Linked DNA regions of Homo sapiens: regions 2, 3, 4, 5, 6 and 7 are each linked to region 1. The links are contacts of gene promoters, found by promoter capture Hi-C in blood cells and fetal thymus (Javierre and others, 2016). All regions are on one chromosome and are shown on one strand. Each heading gives the region's core, a stretch centred on a gene start or on the middle of the fragment in contact. The rest is flanking DNA. Distances are from core to core; before and after follow the strand shown. Region 1 holds the start of ACMSD (aminocarboxymuconate semialdehyde decarboxylase). Region 2 overlaps TMEM163 (transmembrane protein 163). Region 3 overlaps TMEM163 (transmembrane protein 163). Region 4 overlaps TMEM163 (transmembrane protein 163). Region 5 overlaps TMEM163 (transmembrane protein 163). Region 6 overlaps TMEM163 (transmembrane protein 163). Region 7 overlaps TMEM163 (transmembrane protein 163).

Region 1 (2,838 bases), core at 113-2,612:
GTAAGAAACTGCATGCAGCTTCTAAACAAGGCAGATGCACTCCCACAAAGTAACTGGTGCATTCCCTTCATGAAATCATTAACATTGTGAAGTGGTTTACACTTCAGTAAACTATGATGAGGACAACAGCACTCAGAACAGCATGTTCCTGTGTAAACATGTAGAGTCCTTTTAGGAAGAGCAGGTTGAGAGGTTTATCTTTTATCGTTAGCTGTGCATAGGATAGGCTTTCAAAGATTTTGTTTTTCAATCCACAGTTTCTACCACCCCTCTTACCTAAGATACCAATGGACAAAGAAATACTTAAGATAAACATTCTTCAATGAGACAACTATGAGAAGAAAATAGTTTCATCTATTTGCACAATGAACCACATTTAATTCAAGTTTGGGTTAATTCATTTTCCCTCACTTGGGATAAAAAAGTTGAAACATTATCGGTGGTGTGAAAGTACTGGCAGAATGCTGAAGATTGGGTAAAACCTGATATTAAGCCTGAACAAACCTCTAGCCAATTTTACATTTCTTTCATGTTCCTCACCTTCCTCTTTTTATATTCATTCAAAAGTTCTTAATGACAAAAGGAAATTTCCATCTTTAGAGAAACACAAAGAATACTCTCTTAGGAGATGTCACTGTGCAAAAGCTTCATGTCATTTATTCTCGGGTTTTTTGATGTACCTACTTCCTAGTTCTTCAGGACAAAGATTTATAGAATAAAGAACATCAAACAGTAAAGGTTTCAGGCAGTGTCCTAAAATAGACTAAAAAAATTCACAAAGCTATCTCTTGGTGCTTCTAAAACTTATTTTAAACATTTTGGAAAGGAGATATATTTTAGAAGTCCTTGAAACCGATCACATTCCATTTTTAATGGTCTTCTACTTAAAATTGTAACTTTAAATTCTGTAGTTGGCATGTATCTTCCCAGCAGCTGAATATGTGATTTTTGAAAAGGTAAATCTGCCTTATTTAAATTGTCCAGATATTTTAAAGAATGGTTCATTTGAGGGAAAAAAGGGTTTCTGAGAAAGCACTTATTTCTTTAATCCAATGTTATTTCAAAATAAATATAAAAGTCATTTTTAAAAGCTAGAAAATCAGAACTACCAAATGATTTAACCCCCTCGCCCCCCACCAAAGCAGATAAACTAGACATCTAATTCCACAAAGAAGAGAAAGGCATTGAGAAACCCTGGAGAAGTTTCAGAAATAATTCAGCAAATTAATTACCATTACCTTTTTTAGATCTGGCCATTCTTTTGGTAGAATATGACTATGGATGTCAATTTTCATCTCCACAGGATCAGAGAAGCATGCAAGGAAAGAAGTTTTGATATCAAGAGACCTTTGTGAAAACTGTGGAGTTAATTGATTTACTTAGTCCCTTTACAGCAACCTTCAGGCAGCAGTCAGTAGGCCTGCCCAACCCAGTCTAGGTCCATTAGAACTGCTTTATTAAAGTTCAAAGTTCTGTTTATTTGTTAACCAAGCTTTGGTTAACCAAGCTTTATTTGTTAATCAAGCTTTGGGTCAACACAGTTTGGTAGTCAGGACTCTTGGCACAAAACTTAAAAAAACAAAAACAAAAACAAAAACAAAAAAACAACTGTACTCAACTGTATGAGGTCAAAAGCACAGCAGGATGCTTTGACTTACAGCAGGTCAAAAATTGACTGATTTTTCATTTTAAATATTTTAACTTAGTTGTACATAGTTAATAATTAAATAGTTTGTAGTTAAAAATAAAACCATGCAGAGGGCTTTTACAGAAAAAGGATAGATCCCTGACTCACCTTTTCTTACTTTTCCTTGCACTATTCAGAAGCAGCCAGTTTTTATGATTTTGCTTTTTGTTCAGTTAGTTACTCCCATATCTTTAAATAATATTTAACAGTTGTCTTGTTCATGAAAATTTAACGTGTTGAAAAGTTATGGGGAGGTTTCACATTTTAAATCACAGAAAGAGTCCACTCTTCATATATGTTTTTTCCTCCAGTGCCTTTGTCTTGGACTCATTCATTCATGCATTTTTTTCCTTTTTTTTTTGTTTTTTAATTTGAGATGCGGTCTCACTATATTGCCCAGGCTGGTATGGAATTCCTGGGCTCAAGCAATCCACCCACCTTTGCCTCCCAAAGTGCTGGGATTACAGGCGAGAGCCACTGCACCCAGCTTCATTCATGCATTTAACAAACATTTATGGAGAACTGCTATATGCTGACGATGTAAGGTTGACTGAGAGAAAGATGATACATATCCTAAAGTGTAGGGAAAAGAAGATAGTAGCCATTTCCATTTAGCATTATCAGAGCAGTCAGGGAGGGCTTCCAATATAGCAGAAAGTGGGGCTTATATGGTCATGCCTCTAAAGAGAGCCTGGAACAAAACAGCCCTTGATTGTTCTGTGTTTACCCTTTCCTCTTCCTGAACAGCTTAAAATGTTCAAGGGACCCCAGGTCCCCTGGCAAACCCTTAAACCTGCCTTGGTTGCTGCCTTCAGCTCAGACTCCACAACACATAAATTGAGTAGTCAAAAAGCTTCCTTCTGTAATTCAGCTAGATTCTGGATAAATTATAACAGACAGCTTGAAAGAAAATAAAGGAAATCCTTGAAATCCATTTTTTTAGAAGTTCAGTGAGCTAAAACTGAATGAGTAAGCCTTAAACTAACATGGAGGCACTTGCTAATACTGAGTAAGTAAGTGCAAGCATTTTTAGAGCACTCCCAATGGGCCAGGCACTGGTCCATGAATTTTAATAAAGTCGGTTCACTTATTACTCATAACATTCCTGTGGGGGAAGAACTAGGACCAATATTCATTTTATAGAAGAGGAA
Region 2 (2,838 bases), core at 233-2,732, 380 kb after region 1:
GGGAATGGACGATGGTGCTGCCATGGACGCAGAGTTACCATTCGCCCCAGCACTTCCAGTCCTTGGTATACACTGCGGGAGGATGGAAACAAACCTCCACACTGAAAGTTGTCTGTGAAATTCACAGCAGAGTTATTCACAATAGGCAAAACGCAGAAGCAACACAATTGTCCATTAACAGATGAATGGATAAATGTGGTAGATCTGTGCAGTGGACACTTATTCAGCCCCCAAAAAGGAATGAAGTGCTAATACTCGCTCCAACATAGATGGACCTCAAATATTATGAAGGAAGTCACAAAAGGCCACGTTATGTGATTTTGTTTATATAAAATATCAATAGGCAAATCCATAGAGGCCAGAAGGAGGGTACTTCTCGTCAGGCGTGGGGAGGATGGGGAGTGAATGGTACAGTGGACATGGGGTTTCTGAGATAACACAAATGGATGAATATACTAAAAACCACCGAGCCACATAGGGTGAATTTTATGGTATGTGAATTATCTCAGGAAAAAAAAAATGAAAATACGCTTCCCCAAGCTCTTCAGCCCCATGCCATGGAGGTGACCTTGTCTGTCTTCGTCTTTGCAGACTCCTCATCGACATGGTGCCGAGGGTGAGGCAGACACGTCACTACGAGATGTTTGAGTGAAGGGGGCCAGCATCCGCATGAGACCATCGAGATGAGGAGTTTCCACATAGGCAAAGGGTGCCAATATTTAACTGAACATCTGGTTTCTTTTTGGAAGTTTTCTTTCACATGGTTTGTCATTACAAGACAAGGTCTGCCCAGCCAGGTGGATCTACCTTGCCCCCATCACCTGCCGCCCCCATCAAACATGTTGGGACAATGCCCATAGGAATGGACCTCCTTCCCCGTCTCCAGCTGGGACTGGCGTTTTTTAGTCTCTGGAGTATGATGGTTCTCATGGGTAGGATGAGATCTTTGGCAGAAAGGTCTTCGGTGGTGCTCTGAGCCTGCGCTGCATAGGACTGAGCAGACCCACCTCCTCCAGCTTGGGTGGCCCTGCCACTCCTGGTTCCAAGTCTCTCCTTTCCTGGCAGGTCTTAAGGGAAGATTGTACCCCTCACCCTTTACATACCCAGAATCATCAGTATGTCACTTCCTAATTTCTATCAGTGTATCTCATTATTTCATACTGTTTTACTAATCCTAAGTCTAAACAGATTTGCTCAAAAGGAGACCATTCTATTTTTTAAAGTACTTAGTGATACACGTATAAGCTTTGCATGGACGAATTAAATAAGCACATTGACCTTTTCTTGTACATTCAGAACCTGAACATCCATGTGAAAACTGGGTCCATTTTTGAGAGATGTGAAACTACAGTTTATTTGTAATAAATAAATATAATCTATCCGTATATGCATATATCTATATGCTGTGTTAAGTGGTAATGGGTACATTACAGTCTGTGAGAGATGGATCGCTCCCTCTGTAAGGAACAAGACGTTCTCAGCTGATGTCACGGTAGGTTTAGATTCTGTAGAGTGTTCCCCAACCCGCACCGTTCTGTACCTCTCACACCACTGCTTGCCCGGGCAGTAGTGGCTGACCAATAAAGACCTTTACCTGTTTTGTATGGCATGGGAAGGCAATCTTTGGCAGTCGTCACCGTGCGGCACCAACACATGGGGAGACCCGTCATGGGCAGGTTTTCCGCTGTGGCTGAAGGATGACCTGGGAGGGGAAGCTTGTGCCTAGGGGTGCTGAACGTGGAGACCCTGAAGGACTGTGGTGCAGGCCGCCCTCTCTGACCACTCAGGTAGGGGCCACACACTCACCTGGCACCGAGGGACAGCTGCTCCATGGCCTTGCTGCAGCTTTGGGGCCCTGTCTCCCCTCCACGCCAGTGAAGGGAGTTTGTTCTGTGAGGTCATGGAAACTTGGTCCAGTACCATGCTTTCAGGTTGCTTCCCCAGCAGTACTGAGGAATACGTCAAGGGATGTTAATATGTAACAACATGAACTAAAGAAAAAAAAGATTGGGAAGTGTAGGAGCCTGTAGGTTTCTCTTCTGCTGGTTTTCTCGTTGTGTCTAATATACATCATGGAAGCTCAGGGAGGGGAAGTGACACTGGTAGCGTTGCCCAAATGTAGGCACTCGGCTTTCCCTTGTGTTCTAACATGCTCTGTGAACTGTGTGGGGTGTCCATTTTGGGCCGTAGCCAGGAGGCCCGCCAGCTTCAGAGAGGCCATGCAGATGAGGGCCAGTGTCATCTGCAGACAAACTGTTGGGTGGGGCATGGACTAACCTTCCCTGTCTCCAGGGCATTTGCCTAACCAGCTGCTCATGGCTCACTGCTTCCTGGCTCAAAAGCTGCTCTTGAAAGGGAGAAATCTATTCTAGGTCCAATGGTCGCTGGTGCTCAGCCCCTTATAGAGCTATTTTTATTAGCTCATTCTTAAAGATTTTTCTCAAAATCTAGCAGTTCACTTTCTAATTGAATTTCCTTCTAGGGGAAGGCAGCACAAGGAGAGTGCGCTAACATGAGTAGTGGTGGATGTGATATAAGGGAAGGAATACACAGTAGTAAAACCTTCCCCTCTCCACTCCTTAAGTATACCTTCCTGTCTTCCTACCAGCCGTTTCAACAGTGTGCTGCAAACCGTGAAATACAGCTGGGGGAAGCTGTGTGCTGGGGACGCGCCTAGACAGCAGCTCAGCTTTGTTCTGGAGGTGACCCTGCATGCACCCGCCCCCCCAAAAATCACTTCCACCTGTCACACAAGAAAAGTTTATTGAAAAATAAAGTTCTCCCTAGTTTTCTCTACAACAGTGGAAAACAAAGCAGTGCTCTCTATGCCAGGACAGT
Region 3 (2,838 bases), core at 170-2,669, 370 kb after region 1:
TCCTAGAGTGCTGAGAAGTCTTTGGCTTCCTCTGTTTCTCCTTCCCTTCTCCATGAGTGGGTAGTGACACATTTGACACATCAAATGCTTTTTCTGCATCTATTGAGATGATTATATGGGCTTTCTTTTTGTTCTGTCAATATGGGAAATTGCTTTGATTGATATTTGAATGTTTAATCAATATTGGTTCCCCAGGATAAACCCCGTTTGGTCATGTTGTATTATCCTTTTTATATATTGCTGAATTTGTGTTGCTGATACTTTGTTGAGGACTTTTAAGTCTGATTCATGAGAGCTATTGGTCTGTAGTTTTCTTGTGATGCTTCTGCTTTTAGTGTCATGGTAATGCTGGCCTCAGAAATAAATTGGGAAGTGTTTCTTCTTTATCTTTTTTTTTCTGAAAGAGATGTTTTAGAATTGGTTATTTCTCCTTTAAATGATTAAATGTTTGGCAGATTTGCCAGTAAAAGCATTGGGGCCTGAAGTTTTGTGAGAAGGATTTTCACTACAGTTTCAAGGTCTTCGGTTGATACAGGGTTCTTCAGGTTATCTACTTCTTGGATGACGTTTGATTTGTCTATTTCTTCTAAGTTGTCAAATTTATTGGCATCAAGTTGGTTATATCTCCTTGTTATCTTCTTAATAGATCCTGTTGGATCTGTAGTGATGTACCTTCTCTCATTCCTGATATTGGTAACATGTGTCCTCTTTCTTCTAGATGAGTCCTGGAGGTTTATCCTACATTACTGATCTTTATCAAGGTCTTTGGTTTTATTGATTCTTCTCTACTGTTTATTCATTTTCTGTCTCATTGGTTTCTTTTTCTTTTTTTTTTTTTTGAGACAGAGTTTCACTCTTGTTGCACAGGCTAGAGTGCAATGGTGTGATCTTGGGTCACTGCAACCTCTGCCTCCCTGGTTCAAGTGATTCTCCTGCCTCAGCCTCTCATGTAGCTGGGATTACAGGTGTGAGGCACCACACCCAGCTAATTTTGTATTTTTAGTAGAGACAGGGTTTCCCCATGTTGGTCAGGCTGGTCTCGAACTCCTGACCTCAAGTGATCCACCTGCCTCGGACTCCCAAAGTCCTGGGATTACAGTTGTGAGCCACCGCACCTGGTCTGTCTCATTGATTTCTGCTCATAAGTTTATTATTTCTTTCCTTCTCCTTACTTTGGGATTAATTTGATTTTCTTTTAATTTTTTCTTAAAGGCAAAGCTCAGATCATTGATATTAGGCCTTTTAAACATTTTTAAGTACATTATTTACTATAAATTTTCCTCTTAGCTCTGCTTTTGCTGCATACCACTAATTTCAGTATACTGTTGTTCTACTTTATTTCACTTCAAAATATATTGTAATTTCCCTGGTGACTTATTCTTTGATTCATGAGTTTTTAAGAAGTGGGTTGTTTTATTGTTTAGTTTCCAAATACTAGAATATTCTAGATATCATCCTGTTACTGATTTCTAGTTTAATCCCATTGTCAGAGAATATGCCTTGTATAATTCAGTTTTTTAATTGGTTGACATCTTTTTAATGGCATAGAATGTGATCTACATTAATATTACATTTAAAAAGAATGTGTGTCCTGCCTTTGTAGGGTAGATGTTCCGTAAATGTCAGGCAAAGCTGGTTGATCATGTTGTTGAAGTCTTCTGTTTACTGACTTTCTGTTAGTTTGTTCTATCAGTTATGTAAAAGTGTTTTCATTGCTGTAATGAATGGCCCATATGTGCCGTCATTTGCATACATGTACAGGTATAGCAGTAAGATAAATTCACATAAGTGGGTGGCTTGCTCAAAGGGTAGATGTGTACTTTTCAGAGAAATTGTCAAATTGTTCTCTGTACAGGTTGGACCATTTTGCACTGCCACCAGAATTGTATGAGAGACTGTTTTCTCATAGCCTTGTAATATTTTTGGTTAGATAAAAAGGATCTTACTATAGTTTTGGCTTTCATTTCTTTTATGAGCATTTGAGCCTTTTTCATATGTTTAAAATTTATGTTATTTTTAACTGTCTCTCACATATATCTTTGTCCATTTTCTCTTTGTTGGTCTTTTTCCTCTAGATTTCCATGAGCCCTTTCTATAGTAAGGAGATTAACCCTTTGTGATAACCCTTTTCCTAGTTTGTATTTGATCTTTCCCCTGAATATGTCTTAACTTCTCTCTAGTCAAGTATATCAATCTTTTATGGCTTTGCTACTACAAGATGTTGAAGGAGCTTGCCAGCATGGACAAAATTTATGTGGAGTTTACCTTTAATGTACATTTATACTTGGCTTTGAATGAGTGGCTAATTTCCTTAAACCTTTTTGTCATAATCTTCCATCAATCAGTGAAGATTCAACTGTGAGAAATTATAGAGACACAGTGCTGGTAACAGCAGGAACTGAATGCCCAGCAAGGAAATCGCTGTTGCTGTTTTCACGGAGTCCACTGTTGAGGGACATGAGAGATGATGATAAGGCCTTAGATGAGGCAACCTGGTAGAGTTTACAGCTGGGAACAATTCCAGGTCCTGCCACTGCAGAGTGACCCTGGGAAAGTCATTTAGCCTCTCTCCAACTGTTTATGCATCTGTCAGACGCCCACTCTGACAGTGCTGAGAATTCAGTGGCATGGTAGGTGCGGCCGCACCTTGAGAGGAGTCAGTGGTGGAACAGCCTACACGTGTTATGGTTTCTCATCATCAGCCATGTCTCCATGTCTGCTGTGGCTTCCTGACTCTCTGAAAGGAATCTTCTCAGAAACTTCCTTTTATTAAACTTAGAGACTGTCTTAGCTTGGGGTGCCAAAGACAAATGTCGTAGACTAGGTGGCTTAAAAAAC
Region 4 (2,838 bases), core at 133-2,632, 340 kb after region 1:
AAAATGCAAAGGGGTCTATCAACGTCATATCCAAAAGTGACAGAGTAGACTTTCCTTTGCTTAAGCTAACAGTAATGGCTTCCCATTTTATGTTTGGTGCATTGTCTCATTTCCTTTTTAGGTAGGGAATATATTCCCATTTGAAAGATGAGGAAATCAAGGCTAAGAGAGACAATAATCAAGATCACACAAGTTAAGTAAATGGTAGAGCTTGGCATGTCTCATGCCAGAGCCTCCATTCTGCTGTTAAACCATGTGCCTTCCCGTTTGAGCAGGAATGAAACATCACATTTGCCAGGCAAGGGAGAAAGATTTCATGGCCTTGAAGACCCTTCCATGACAGCATTCATGGTATGCTGTGAGCTTCTGTAGGATGGTGATCTCTTTTCCCTGTGGTTGACTTTGGTGATCAAACTCTGAACTGTATTCTCCTAGAGGTGACTTAGTGTCAATCCATGGACTGTGGGTGGTCACCCTGGGGGTGTGGCAAATTACAATTGAGTTCATTCCCAGATTGTGTCTTTGTCACTGTCAATTGTGTGGACTCTTCAGCAGTGTGAGTTCTCCCAGTTAAGATTCTCAATGTTTTGTTTTTTGCAGAGCCTGTGTCATCTTGGGGGTGATATTCCTTCTGTCATCCATATGTATAGTGGTCAAAGCCATCCATGACCTCTCAACTAGGCTGCTCCCAGAAGTGGTAAGGTCCTTCTTCTTCCTTAACAATCCTTCCTGCCAGCGCTGGCCCCCTGGGCTGCCTCTTATCGCAGGGTTCCCGGGTGGAGTCGGGCATGTTGAGAGGGAACAGACAACATTCTGGGGGTCAGAAGAACTTGTTGCAGGGATGCAAATGACCTGGTGGAGAGAAACACTGGGCAAGGTGAAGAGACTCCAGATAGGTGAGCTAGGACTGGGTTCTGTGTGCCTTTCCTTAGCTATTTTCACTATTTTTAAAGCAAGACTTTTTGTGTGTGTAAAGAGAAATTGGGTTATTTTTGTGAAGCAGAGTGATCCAATCTGTGTTGTTTGCATCTGTTGTTCTGTGTTCATTCAATGATCGTTGTATTAAGAATTATTTTTTTCCTTTGCACCTCAATTCAGTCATAAATCTATTCATGTTAGGTTTTCTGGCACAATTGACACTGGGATATTGAAACTGGAGGACACAAATTCATATTAAAATGTGTCTTTGACTGCTTTGTCCTCTGGGTGAGAGTCATTACCGGCACTCTGATTCTTTTTCCCTCCCTCCCCTTATGAGTGCTGAGAAAAGAAATATTTTTACAGCCTCCTGTCATGCAGTCTTCGTGACAGGCAGCTGATGTGGTTACCAGGAGATGAAGATGCTGCCATTACAATAATTCCCTGTGTACAAGTTGCAATGGAAATTTGAATGCAAAATCTGGTCTCCTCTTAGGATGTGATTTGATGTGAGCTTGGCTACATGCACCATCTGATATAAGACCAAAATGATTAGACCTTTAATTTTACTTTTGAAAAAAGATATTAATCCTTGTTGGGTGATGTATTGCATGTATGTGTGTTTGTGTGTATATGTGTGTTTTTATAGGGAAGATGAAAATGAGGTGAGACATTCTCCTGCATTTAGTAGAGGCATGAAAGTGGCTGCTTTAAGTTGTTTTCCTCACTCCCTTGTAAATGATTAGTGCCATCCCTTTAATGATCCACCAGGATTTTAACTGTTATTTATCACCACAGTTGGCCAGCGCTTACTCTCTAACATCTCAGTGACAGGGAGGAAAAATGGATATGGGGATAGGAATGTACCTATTTGTGGTATTTAGTCTTTTTCAGAAGCAGAGATAGCCCGAACAAATATTACCATTTATTACAGTCCTGTGCTCTTCATCTCCTACTTAACCAATCTCCCTGGTTGCCTGGCATATGGGACTCTCGCGTCCTCCTCCTCCATCAGACTTGCTAGCCTGCATTTCATTCAGTCAGAATCTGAACCTTAGGTAAGATATGAGGGCACCAAGTGTGATTATACATGTTAGATGTCAGTCAGGTAACGTCTACGTTTTATAGGCCTTGCAAATATGCCTCCACTCTGAGAAATGTTTGTTGGTGGGCATTTTCTGCACTATGCCAGTTGACACATTCATTTATTTGGCATTAAAAATTAATTTCCAGCAGGGCTCATGTGATAGGGGATGGATGGCTGTGCTCACGGCCCTTGTAATGGCTCTCCTTGTTATTCTCCCGATAGCTGAACCACTTTTAACTGGGAGCAATCTGTTATTATCCCACAGTGCAAATACTCTTAAGAGAAGCAGCTCACCGACTTACATTCCCCCTCAAGGTGTACATATCCAACACCCAGCCTCACCTGGGGTTCAGAGAAGCTGAAGATTCCATGGTTGCGCCTGTCCTTACAGAACCCATACCATCTGTACCTTTGATGAATTGTGCTATGGGATTGTAAACATTTAATTTACTTATTTTTTTAAATTGACAATAATGATAATTTATGGGGTACATAGTGATGTTTTGATACATATCATGTATAGTGACCAGATTAGGGTAATTAGTGAATTACCATATCCATTATCTCAAACATTTATTATTTCTGTGTTGGGAACATTCAGTATCCCTCTCCTAGCTATATAATATGTGATATATTATACAATTATAACCTATATAGTATATTATTGTTCACTCTAGTCATCCTATAATTGTTTAGAACACTAGAACTTATTCCTCCTATCTAGCTGTAATTTTGTATCCTTTAACAAGTCCCTCCCTTCCCCCTCCCCTCCCCAGTCTCTGGAATCCTCTGTTTTACTTTTTACTCTTACACAATCACCTCTTTCTAATTCG
Region 5 (2,838 bases), core at 204-2,703, 310 kb after region 1:
AATACATATAGTCTAAATAACATTTCATGATTTTAAAATTAGTATGTACTCATTATTTAAAAACTGGACAATTTTTTTTTTTGAGGTAGGGTCTTGCTGTGTCGCCTAGGCTAGAGTACAATAGTGTGATCGCCGGGGAGATCTTGGCTCACTGCAGCCTCTGCCTCCTGGGTTCAAGTGATTCTCTTGCCTCAGCCTCCCAAGTAGCTGGGACTACAGGTGTGTACCACCATGCCCGGCCAATTTTTGTACTTTTTTTTGTAGAGATAGGGGTTTCTCCATGTTGGCCAGGCTGGCCTTGAACTCCTGACCTCAGATCATTCCACCTGCCTTGACCCCCCAAAGTGCTGAATTACAGATGTGAGCCACCATGCCTGACCAAAAACTGGACAATTTAATGTATGAAGAGTCACCCCTCATCCTACCACCCAGAGAATGGTTAGCTTTTGGAGATTTTTTTCTTTCCATTTCTTTTATGCATGTGCGCAGGTTTATATACATTTTGTTTTTGTTTTTGAGACAGAGCGAGACTCTGTCACCCAGGCTGGAGTATAGTGGCGTGATCTCAGCTCACTGCAACCTCTGCCTCATGGGCGCAAGTGATCCTCCTGTCTCAGCCTCCTGAGTAGCTGGGATTACAGACATGCACCACCAGGCGCAGCTAATTTTTTTATTTTTAGTAGAGACGGGGTTTCACCATGTTGGCCAGGCTGGTCTTGAACTCCTGGCCTCAAATAATCCACTGGCCTTGGCTTCCCAAATGCTGGGATTACAGGTGTGAGCCATAGCATCTGGCCGGGTTGGTACACATTTTTATAAAGCTGAGCTAATGGTACGTGTTCTGTTGTGCATCCTGCTTTTCCCCCCACTTTCTAAAGTGAGCATTTCTTTGTTATTGAAAATCTTGATGTACTTCCTTTTAAGTGTCAATGTTGCATCTTATTGATGCACCGTTATTAACCATTCACCTTAAATACCCAAGTATGGTTTTTCTTCTCCTATTATAACATAGCAGTGAAGGGCTTTATACAATCTTGTGTCTGATTATTTCCTTAGGAAGAATATTTCTTTAAATGCAATTTCTAATCAGAAGTGTGAGACATATTACTAAATTGTCCACTGAGATTGACACTTTGTATTCCAACCAGCACTGGCTGTTTTCATTTTTAAAAATGGACAATTGAAGAGGCAAAGTGGTATCATTACAACTTTTTTTCACTTTTCAAATGGCTTAAGAATTGACCCTAGAGATGTTACTCCAAATTGTTTGGCTGATCAAGATTTTCCAGAATGTTTGTCTAACCAGAGTTTAGTTCACCTCACCATACCCTAACTTTTCTATCTCATTCATAACAATGTTATAAGAAACTCTTATCAGATGCCTTGTTAAAATCAAAATGTATCATCTGAGGCATTCTCCTGGTTTACTAGGTTAGGGAAGCCATCTCTAAAGGAAATGGAGTTAGGCCAGTTAGATTTATTCCTGGTGAACCTAGGTGAGCTGAACAAAATGTTTTTCATTTTGGAATTGTTAGACTAAATCTGTTAAGTAAGCCATCTGATAATTGAAGTAAGCCTTTCATCGGTCTTGAATTTCTAAGATCTGCTTACAAACACCAAGACCCATTTCCCAACTTCTAGAATAGTTTCCTGTTTGCCCTGATTTTTTAAAAGGCTACTGGGAGTTTTTCCATAACAACATGGAATGATCTTTCACCATTTGGGATAATGTGATTTAGGATCTGGATGGTGTTAGAAGGACCAGGTGTTTCTTTTTCGTTCTGTCTTGTTGGACTTCTGTGTCCTCTTAATTAGTTTTATTTTCTGTTCCTTGCCCAGTTGACAGGCCAGAAGTGGTGCTATTCTGTCTTTTGTCTCATGTAAACATTGACCATTCTTCTTGGGTTGTAGTTAACCTGAGAATTTTGTTCTGAATGGCATTTGGAAATATTTTTTCCAAGACTTAGCCCATTTTGGACCTATATCTAACATACATGTTGGCGCTACTCTTTTGATTGTGTCTTTGGCTAATTATTTTCGTATGTTCCTCTTAAATATCACCTCATCAGAGGGCTTTCCATGCTGTTACAGTGATTTATTTATGGGCATCCCATCTCAATCCTGTCATTTTCCCAGCCCGTGTTTGTGGTTTCAGCCAGGACCGGAATGATTCCCAAGGCTAGGACAAGTCATTCCTATAGCCTTGCTCAGGATCCCGGGAGAGCGGGAAGTGGAGAGCCCTGTGGTGTTGGGCTCACTGTCACATACTTTTCTGGAAATTGTAAAGCCCTTAGACCTTCAATTTCCTGCCACAGCTGCTCTTCCCCTTCACTCCTCAACCCTCAGCGATAGCAGCGGGATTTGGGGATCTGGGGCTGTTTTTTTTGGCAAGTGTCTTTTGCACATGTTAAGGATTTGTTGTATTTTTTTCTGAAGGTTTTTCTTTTTCTTAAACTTCTAAAATTTCTTTATAATATACTTTCTAAGGTTTCCTCCCCTTCCTCCCTTCCTTCCTCTCTCTCTCTATAGTAAGTGTATATACACACAAGCATGCACATAAACACATATGCATGTATGTATAGATGCATACACGTATGTAAGCATGTACACTGTATAGATTTGCAGAGGGGTCAGGGCAAGTGAAAGGAGATGGAAGAGACATGATATAATCACCAAGAAGATGAGATTTTATCCTAGTTATAGCTAATAGTCATGACTGACAAATAGTCTGTTATCATGAAAAAGAAAATGAGAAATATGGGAGATTTCATTACCAGAATTAATTGATAACTCCCTAGAAAACTATTTGTGGTGAGGCATTTTTATAGGGTCTTAGTT
Region 6 (2,838 bases), core at 192-2,691, 280 kb after region 1:
GCCAAATCTCTGGACCCTTATTCAGTGTATTTTTCTTCTTCATAGTATGTTCTGTTCTTTAAAATGTTTCTTAAGCGACTTTTCAAACCAAAGAGGTTCAATGTGTTTGGAATCAGCAGTGCAGACCAAGGGCCATCTCAGTGGCCTGGCAAGGATGACCTTGGGTGACAATATCCATGCCTTTGCTAGCTCTTCTTGCCCGTAGTGTTAGCTTTTGGTTCTGGTCTGAATTGACTGTCACACATTAAATAAAAGCCAGAAATTATAATTGGGGGTTAGAGATTCTTCCAGTCTTGTTCAGTTTAACAAGGATTTTTTGAGCACTGACAATGCACTTGTGCTTGAGCACACAGACCCTGAGGATAGAGACAAATATGATACAACCCTTGACTTCACGCTTTTGTGTGCTGCTTGGGAGAAGGCAAGGAGCATTTCTGTGTTTTATAAAAGAAAGGCAGCTAGGGGCAGGGAGCTTTGGGGCCCAAAAAGACACCAAGCCAAAGTAAAAAGAATGGACTGAAAATGAGTTTACCTAGAAACAAGCTTCAAACTCCCAGCAACCTCACAGGTATTTAACATAGAAGACAAGAGAAGATAAAATGCGAAAGTTCTGTTCTATAAATTTTATCCCCATCTCTGTTTATCTAATGAATGCTTTACTTACTGGGCTAAAGGAGCTGCATTCTATGATTAAGGGAAACATAAGGCTTTAAAATGTATGTTTTATCAAATTGTTGGGCAAGCAACTGCTGTATCCCCAGCTCAGCAGAATAGTGTGGGACACATAGTAGGTGCTCAGTAAGCACTTGTTGGTTGAATGAAAGACTGATTAGTTGAGCGTGGCTACTCATGTTAGTCTGGCAGTGTGGGTTGCAGGACATGAATTGAGTGTGGTCTGAGGACACCTGACCAGGCCTGCCTCCCACAGGCTTACTTGATAGCTCTGCTGGCATTGTGGGCAACCCTGGCACAAGGAGGTGTAAGAGCAAGTGTTAGGAAAGTGTGAGTGACATTCAGCAAGAACCTTGCTGCTCACTTTGGGAGGCCAAGTCAGGCGGATCGCGAGGTCAGGAGATCGAGACCATCCTGGCTAACACGGTGAAACCCTGTCTCCACTAAAAAATACAAAAAAAATTAGCCGGGCGTGGTGGTGGGTGCCTGTAGTCCCAGCTACTCGGGAGGCTGAGGCTGGACCTCGGATCACGAGGTCAGTAGATCGAGACCATTCTGGCTAACACGGTGAAACCCTGTCTCCACTAAAAAAAAATACAAAAAAATTAGCCGGGTGTGGTGGTGGGTGCCTGTAGTCCCAGCTACTCGGGAGGCTGAGGCTGGAGAATGGCGTGAACCCAGAAGGCGGAGCTTGCAGTGAGCCAAGATGGCGTCACTGCGCTCCAGCCTGGGCGACAGAGCGAGACTCCGTCTCAACAACAACAAAAATAATAATAATAAAAGAACTTTGCTGCTACTTTTAGCTCTGGCGTGTGAGGTCTGTGTAGCAAATGTGCTAACAAGTTGAGGGGCTGTATACGCCATCGGAGACGGCGGAGACGGCCCATAAATGCTCATAAAAGTTGGTTAACTGTGCCTTCAGGGGATGTTCCTCCTGCTTATTCCCAGACTGAAGAAGCAGCACAGTGAAAGTGTGCTGTGGTGTTGAGGAAGTTTTGTCATTAAAAGCTGGGGTCTTTGTCTTTTTGTCTCTGAGCTGGTGACTCCTGTGTGTGAGACCTCTGAGAGCTTCTTGAAACCCAGGTCTCTCCCTGTTGAGTGGCAGGCATCCTGCCCATGTCCCAGGAATGCCGATCCCTGCTTTGGAACGGGGGTCATGTGCATTTCATGTTACGCAAACTGAAACAGAGCTAGTCTGGTGGTGTGTGGTAGCAGGAACAAGGGTGCCCTGGTCCATGCTAGAGACTTTCCTTGGGTTGTTTTTATTTGGATTTTTTTCCTGTTATACTATTCTGTGTTGGCTCTTGGCTTTCTGGGTCCGGGGCTATCCTTACTCTTTCCTTAATCCTAGATCTTTGCCATTTGCAAATGCTTCAAGCTGTCCCTAAAGCAGTGGTCCATTTAGAGGCTGGTTTCTCCATTGTGCCCCAGAAAGTGCCAGCTGCGGCTTCATTTGCTCAGGGAAGGGCTTCTGGGTAGCACGGCTGGGCCTCCCGGTGTTTTGAGCCCTTGGTCCTGTCTGCCTTCTCCCTGAAGGCTCTGTTTGCTGCATGCTGGAGCTAAGGGGAAGGTGTTAATGAATCCATCTGAAAGTTTTCCATGTTCTATGTGTTTAGGCACTGATCTTGGCATTCGGGATACATCAGGGAACAAACATTCAAAGCTTTTGCCTTTGTGGTGTATATATTCTAATAGGTGGGAGTAGGGTGGGGCAGATGAAACCTACATAAGTACATAAGATAATGTGGTAGATGAGATGTACTTCAGATAAAGAAAATTTAGAGGTGGGTGACAGAGAGCTCAGATTGGGAACGAGGGCAGGTTTCATCGTTAAATGCGGTGGCCAGGACAGCCCTAACCTGAAGGAGGGGAGGGAGCAGGCCAGGCTGATCCCTGGAGTAAGCTTGTTTCTGGCAGAATGAAGAGCCGTGGCCTGGCTGTGGGGAGGTCAGCGAGGAGCCCCATGTGGCTGGAGTGCAGTGAGCAGGTGTGGGCCGCAGAAGAGGAGATCAGAGAACAGAGGCTTCCTCCATCCTAAGGACCATGGCCTTTCCAGGGAGGCCAATGTGTACAAGTACCAGGGGCATGGAGGGATGAATGACAGTCGCTGCTTCCTGTTAGAAATTGGAGTGCAAGTGACCTTTCATTGCAAAGTGGCCCAGAACA
Region 7 (2,838 bases), core at 1-2,500, 260 kb after region 1:
GGATTCCAAAGTTGGTGCTGTGACTGCTGTGCTGAGAGGAGCTTTCTGGTGAAGCTCCACCGTTCTCTGTCCACAGGACTAAGCAGAAATGAAGTTCTTCTCATATTTTTTTAAAATCCAAATAATCATTGCACAGAGATGCCTGTTAAAATAGAGAAATATGTTTTAGTGCCATTTTTATAGGAAGAATGGTCCCAGAGTAGAGATCTCTTAGCATATATGTGGAGTGTGTTCAAGCCAGTGGATTCTTCTCTACTTTTGCAGGTAGAAGGGAATTTAGGCCCCTTGGACCCAGAAGCCATTTTTCTGCCCCCTACCTTTCCTCCTCTCAGGATGGAGGCGACCCCCAGCCCCCACATGAGATATCACCACTTCCTCTTCCTCACCTGCCAGTGACTCACTGTTGCCAAAACTAAAGCATCAGCTTGAGACATGATTATTTTTTTCTTCCTTGTTTCAGAGACAGCACTTATGATGACTGAGTGGCTGTATGCAAGTCATGAGAATCACATGGCAGGACCTAGCACCACCATGCACCAGCTTGGGCTTGGGTTTCTGATTAGTCTGAGTGAAGCTTTGACGTGAATTTTTGTCTTGTCAGACTCCAGTTAACTTCAACAGGGACGGCACTAGGTTCAAGAGTCCAGAGAAGAGACCCAGAGCCAGCAAATGAGATATGGGGTTTTATTTGTGAGAACTTACATGCAGGAACAGTCCAAAGGTGGCAGACTGGACAGGAGAACTGCAACCTCTTGCAAAAAGCGTGCGGTTTGTAGAGCACTTGCACTTAGCAGCGGCCCCCGCATGGCAGCTGTCATTTCTTAAGTTATTGCTATTAGGTGCACCTACCATACTGACCTTCCCCCACCTACAGGAGCTGGGAACATTCCTTATGCTCTTTGGGGGATTTGGGTTGCCTTTTTTGAAGTTGATGAGAAAACAATTTTGCAAAACTTACTCCCCTTCCCAGCCTTTGTCCTCTCTTTTAGTTCCTTTCTAATTAGGCATCTTCCCATAGCACATGGCGATCTTCTTGTCTTCCCTTTTTGACATGACTGTGGTTTCTAGGAAACTGAAAGTTTTAAACTCTTGCATACCTTGTGCTCTCTCATGGTTCTCTGCCGTGTGTGTGAACCCAAGCAGTGCTGGTTGCAGTGCTGTTGATACTTCTATGCGCACTCATGGTGACAAGGAAACCCTTCAGCTTTATGACACCGTTAGGAAGGACAAAGTCTTCAATATGTGTAGCCATATTTTGAACGATGGAATATTTAACATGGAGAATCAGTGGTTCAAGGGCAGGAGGGAGATGGAAGGGTAGTTGCCTTTTTGGTTCTGCTGCTTCTTGTAAAGTTGTGTTCTTTGGTCACTCTGGTATCATTATTGTACATGTGTATATGCATATGCTGACATGGGCAAGGGGAAAGTATGGGGAAACTAAAGGTAGGAGATCCTCCCCTCAAAATGAGCTGACTTGACTTTTGAACTTGTTTTCTCATCAACCTCATAAAATTCATCTCCCCCCCGCCCCCATAAAGAGCATGAAGAATGTTCCCAGCTCCTGTAAGTGGGGGAATTGCTGGTGGTTTGTTTGGGGGAAGGGCAGTGCAGCAATGCAGCCAGAGTGGGGTGGCAGCTGCTATTTTACATTTGGAAGGAAGTGGACCCAGTTCTGGAATGAACATAAATGTTGACATTCAATTTCTCTCACCAAAGTAAAGTGGAGAATTTTAGATATGTTCTGAAAGAGATAAGCATGATGTGTTGCTAAGGCTATTTGCATGTAGACACTTATGAAGAAGATGTGAAAATTGTTTCTGTGTTATGTATATTCTAGTTAATTAAAAAAAAATTAGTTGGCCTTTTAAGGGAAAGGAGCTTGTTGAGTTATTCATCAAGTAGCTACTTTGGGTGATAGAAGCTTGGTTTAAAAAAGAAAAAAAAGGAAGATCAAGGTTAACCAGAAATGGTGCCTCAGGAAGCAAATGTATATATTGGACTACAAATCCTTTTCCGTCGGATTTGCCCCATGTGTCTGTGACTCTCCCTTCAGTGCCCTCCTGCCCTGATTCTGTTGTTCTTGGCACCTGCGTCTGTGATGGTCAGGAAGTTTAGGTCTTCATTAGAGGGTCCAGGGACTGAATTGAGCCCCAGAGGTTATCTCATGAAGCCCCGCCTGGAGAGATTGGTTAGTCAAACCCAGAACCACCATCCACATCTTGCTCCTGTCCTAGGGCTGGTTTTTTTTGAGGCAGAGTCTCGCTCTGTCACCCAGGCTGGAGTGCAGTGGAGCCATCTTGGCTCACTGCAACCTCCACCTCTGGGGTTCAAGCGATTCTCCTGCCTCAGCCCCCTGAGTACATGGGATTACAGACATGCACCATCACTCTCGGCTAATTTTTGTATTTTTTGGTACAGATGGGGTTTCACCACGTTGGCCAGGCTGATCTTGAACTGCTGACCTCAAGTGATCCACCTGGCTCGGCCTCCCAAAGTGCTGGGATTCCAGGTGGCAGCCACTGCGCCCGGCCTCTAGGGTTGTTTGACTTATTTTTGCATTGATCTTGGGCTAATTCCAGATTAATTTCTTGTTGTCTCAAAGACTGACATCCTTTGCACAATAAATGAATGAATTTTATTCCGTATACACTTACTATAGTATATAGTATGTGGGGAAGCCAGTGAGCTCTTGAACAAGGATTTTATTTTACACTTCTTTTGCAAAAGGAACACTTTATAGCACCACATAGTATGTTCCATCAGCCTGCTTAATTGGGCTTGACAATTGGGCTTTGGTTCTTAAACAGTTTTGTAACCCTCCTAATTAAAATCCAGTGT

What was found. The method cuts DNA at HindIII sites, captures the fragments that hold promoters and counts their contacts. A CHiCAGO score of 5 or more calls a contact.
Region 2: a contact is called between a fragment that was not itself captured here and the fragment with the promoter of ACMSD in region 1, in 5 of 17 cell types (M0 macrophages, total CD8 T cells, megakaryocytes and 2 more). The highest score is 7.3, in M0 macrophages.
Region 3: a contact is called between a fragment that was not itself captured here and the fragment with the promoter of ACMSD in region 1, in 5 of 17 cell types (M1 macrophages, total B cells, non-activated CD4 T cells and 2 more). The highest score is 7.4, in M1 macrophages.
Region 4: a fragment that was not itself captured here is called in contact with the fragment with the promoter of ACMSD in region 1 in 4 of 17 cell types (naive CD8 T cells, naive B cells, fetal thymus and 1 more); the score reaches 6.5 in naive CD8 T cells.
Region 5: a contact is called between a fragment that was not itself captured here and the fragment with the promoter of ACMSD in region 1, in 4 of 17 cell types (total B cells, naive CD4 T cells, monocytes and 1 more). The highest score is 6.2, in total B cells.
Region 6: a fragment that was not itself captured here is called in contact with the fragment with the promoter of ACMSD in region 1 in 5 of 17 cell types (naive B cells, naive CD4 T cells, total B cells and 2 more); the score reaches 6.1 in naive B cells.
Region 7: a contact is called between a fragment that was not itself captured here and the fragment with the promoter of ACMSD in region 1, in 5 of 17 cell types (naive CD4 T cells, naive B cells, non-activated CD4 T cells and 2 more). The highest score is 6.7, in naive CD4 T cells.

Annotation. Positions count from the first base shown.
Region 1 is chr2:134,837,140-134,839,977 of GRCh38, reverse strand. It overlaps ACMSD (aminocarboxymuconate semialdehyde decarboxylase), which reads right to left and starts at 1,362. Exons shown (of 10, transcript NM_138326.3): 1 at 1,239-1,362. The coding sequence starts at 1,295. The HindIII fragment of the contact is 847 bases long and covers 648-1,494 here.
Region 2 is chr2:134,454,530-134,457,367 of GRCh38, reverse strand. It overlaps TMEM163 (transmembrane protein 163), which reads left to right. Exons shown (of 8, transcript NM_030923.5): 8 at 592-1,609. The coding sequence ends at 652. MGAT5 (alpha-1,6-mannosylglycoprotein 6-beta-N-acetylglucosaminyltransferase) reads right to left here. Exons shown (of 16, transcript NM_002410.5): 16 at 2,747-2,838. Among named protein-coding and RNA genes, the nearest start is that of MGAT5, 200 kb to the right of the region's middle. The HindIII fragment of the contact is 470 bases long and covers 1,248-1,717 here.
Region 3 is chr2:134,471,537-134,474,374 of GRCh38, reverse strand. The region is part of intron 5 of TMEM163 (transmembrane protein 163); the gene reads left to right. Among named protein-coding and RNA genes, the nearest start is that of MGAT5, 220 kb to the right of the region's middle. The HindIII fragment of the contact is 7,682 bases long and covers 1-2,838 here.
Region 4 is chr2:134,500,760-134,503,597 of GRCh38, reverse strand. It overlaps TMEM163 (transmembrane protein 163), which reads left to right. Exons shown (of 8, transcript NM_030923.5): 5 at 601-697. Among named protein-coding and RNA genes, the nearest start is that of TMEM163, 220 kb to the left of the region's middle. The HindIII fragment of the contact is 6,399 bases long and covers 1-2,838 here.
Region 5 is chr2:134,527,009-134,529,846 of GRCh38, reverse strand. All of the region lies in intron 4 of TMEM163 (transmembrane protein 163), which reads left to right. Among named protein-coding and RNA genes, the nearest start is that of TMEM163, 190 kb to the left of the region's middle. The HindIII fragment of the contact is 5,072 bases long and covers 1-2,838 here.
Region 6 is chr2:134,559,810-134,562,647 of GRCh38, reverse strand. All of the region lies in intron 2 of TMEM163 (transmembrane protein 163), which reads left to right. Among named protein-coding and RNA genes, the nearest start is that of TMEM163, 160 kb to the left of the region's middle. RefSeq lists a silencer at 1,280-1,459. The HindIII fragment of the contact is 1,792 bases long and covers 546-2,337 here.
Region 7 is chr2:134,580,323-134,583,160 of GRCh38, reverse strand. All of the region lies in intron 2 of TMEM163 (transmembrane protein 163), which reads left to right. Among named protein-coding and RNA genes, the nearest start is that of TMEM163, 140 kb to the left of the region's middle. The HindIII fragment of the contact is 1,347 bases long and covers 577-1,923 here.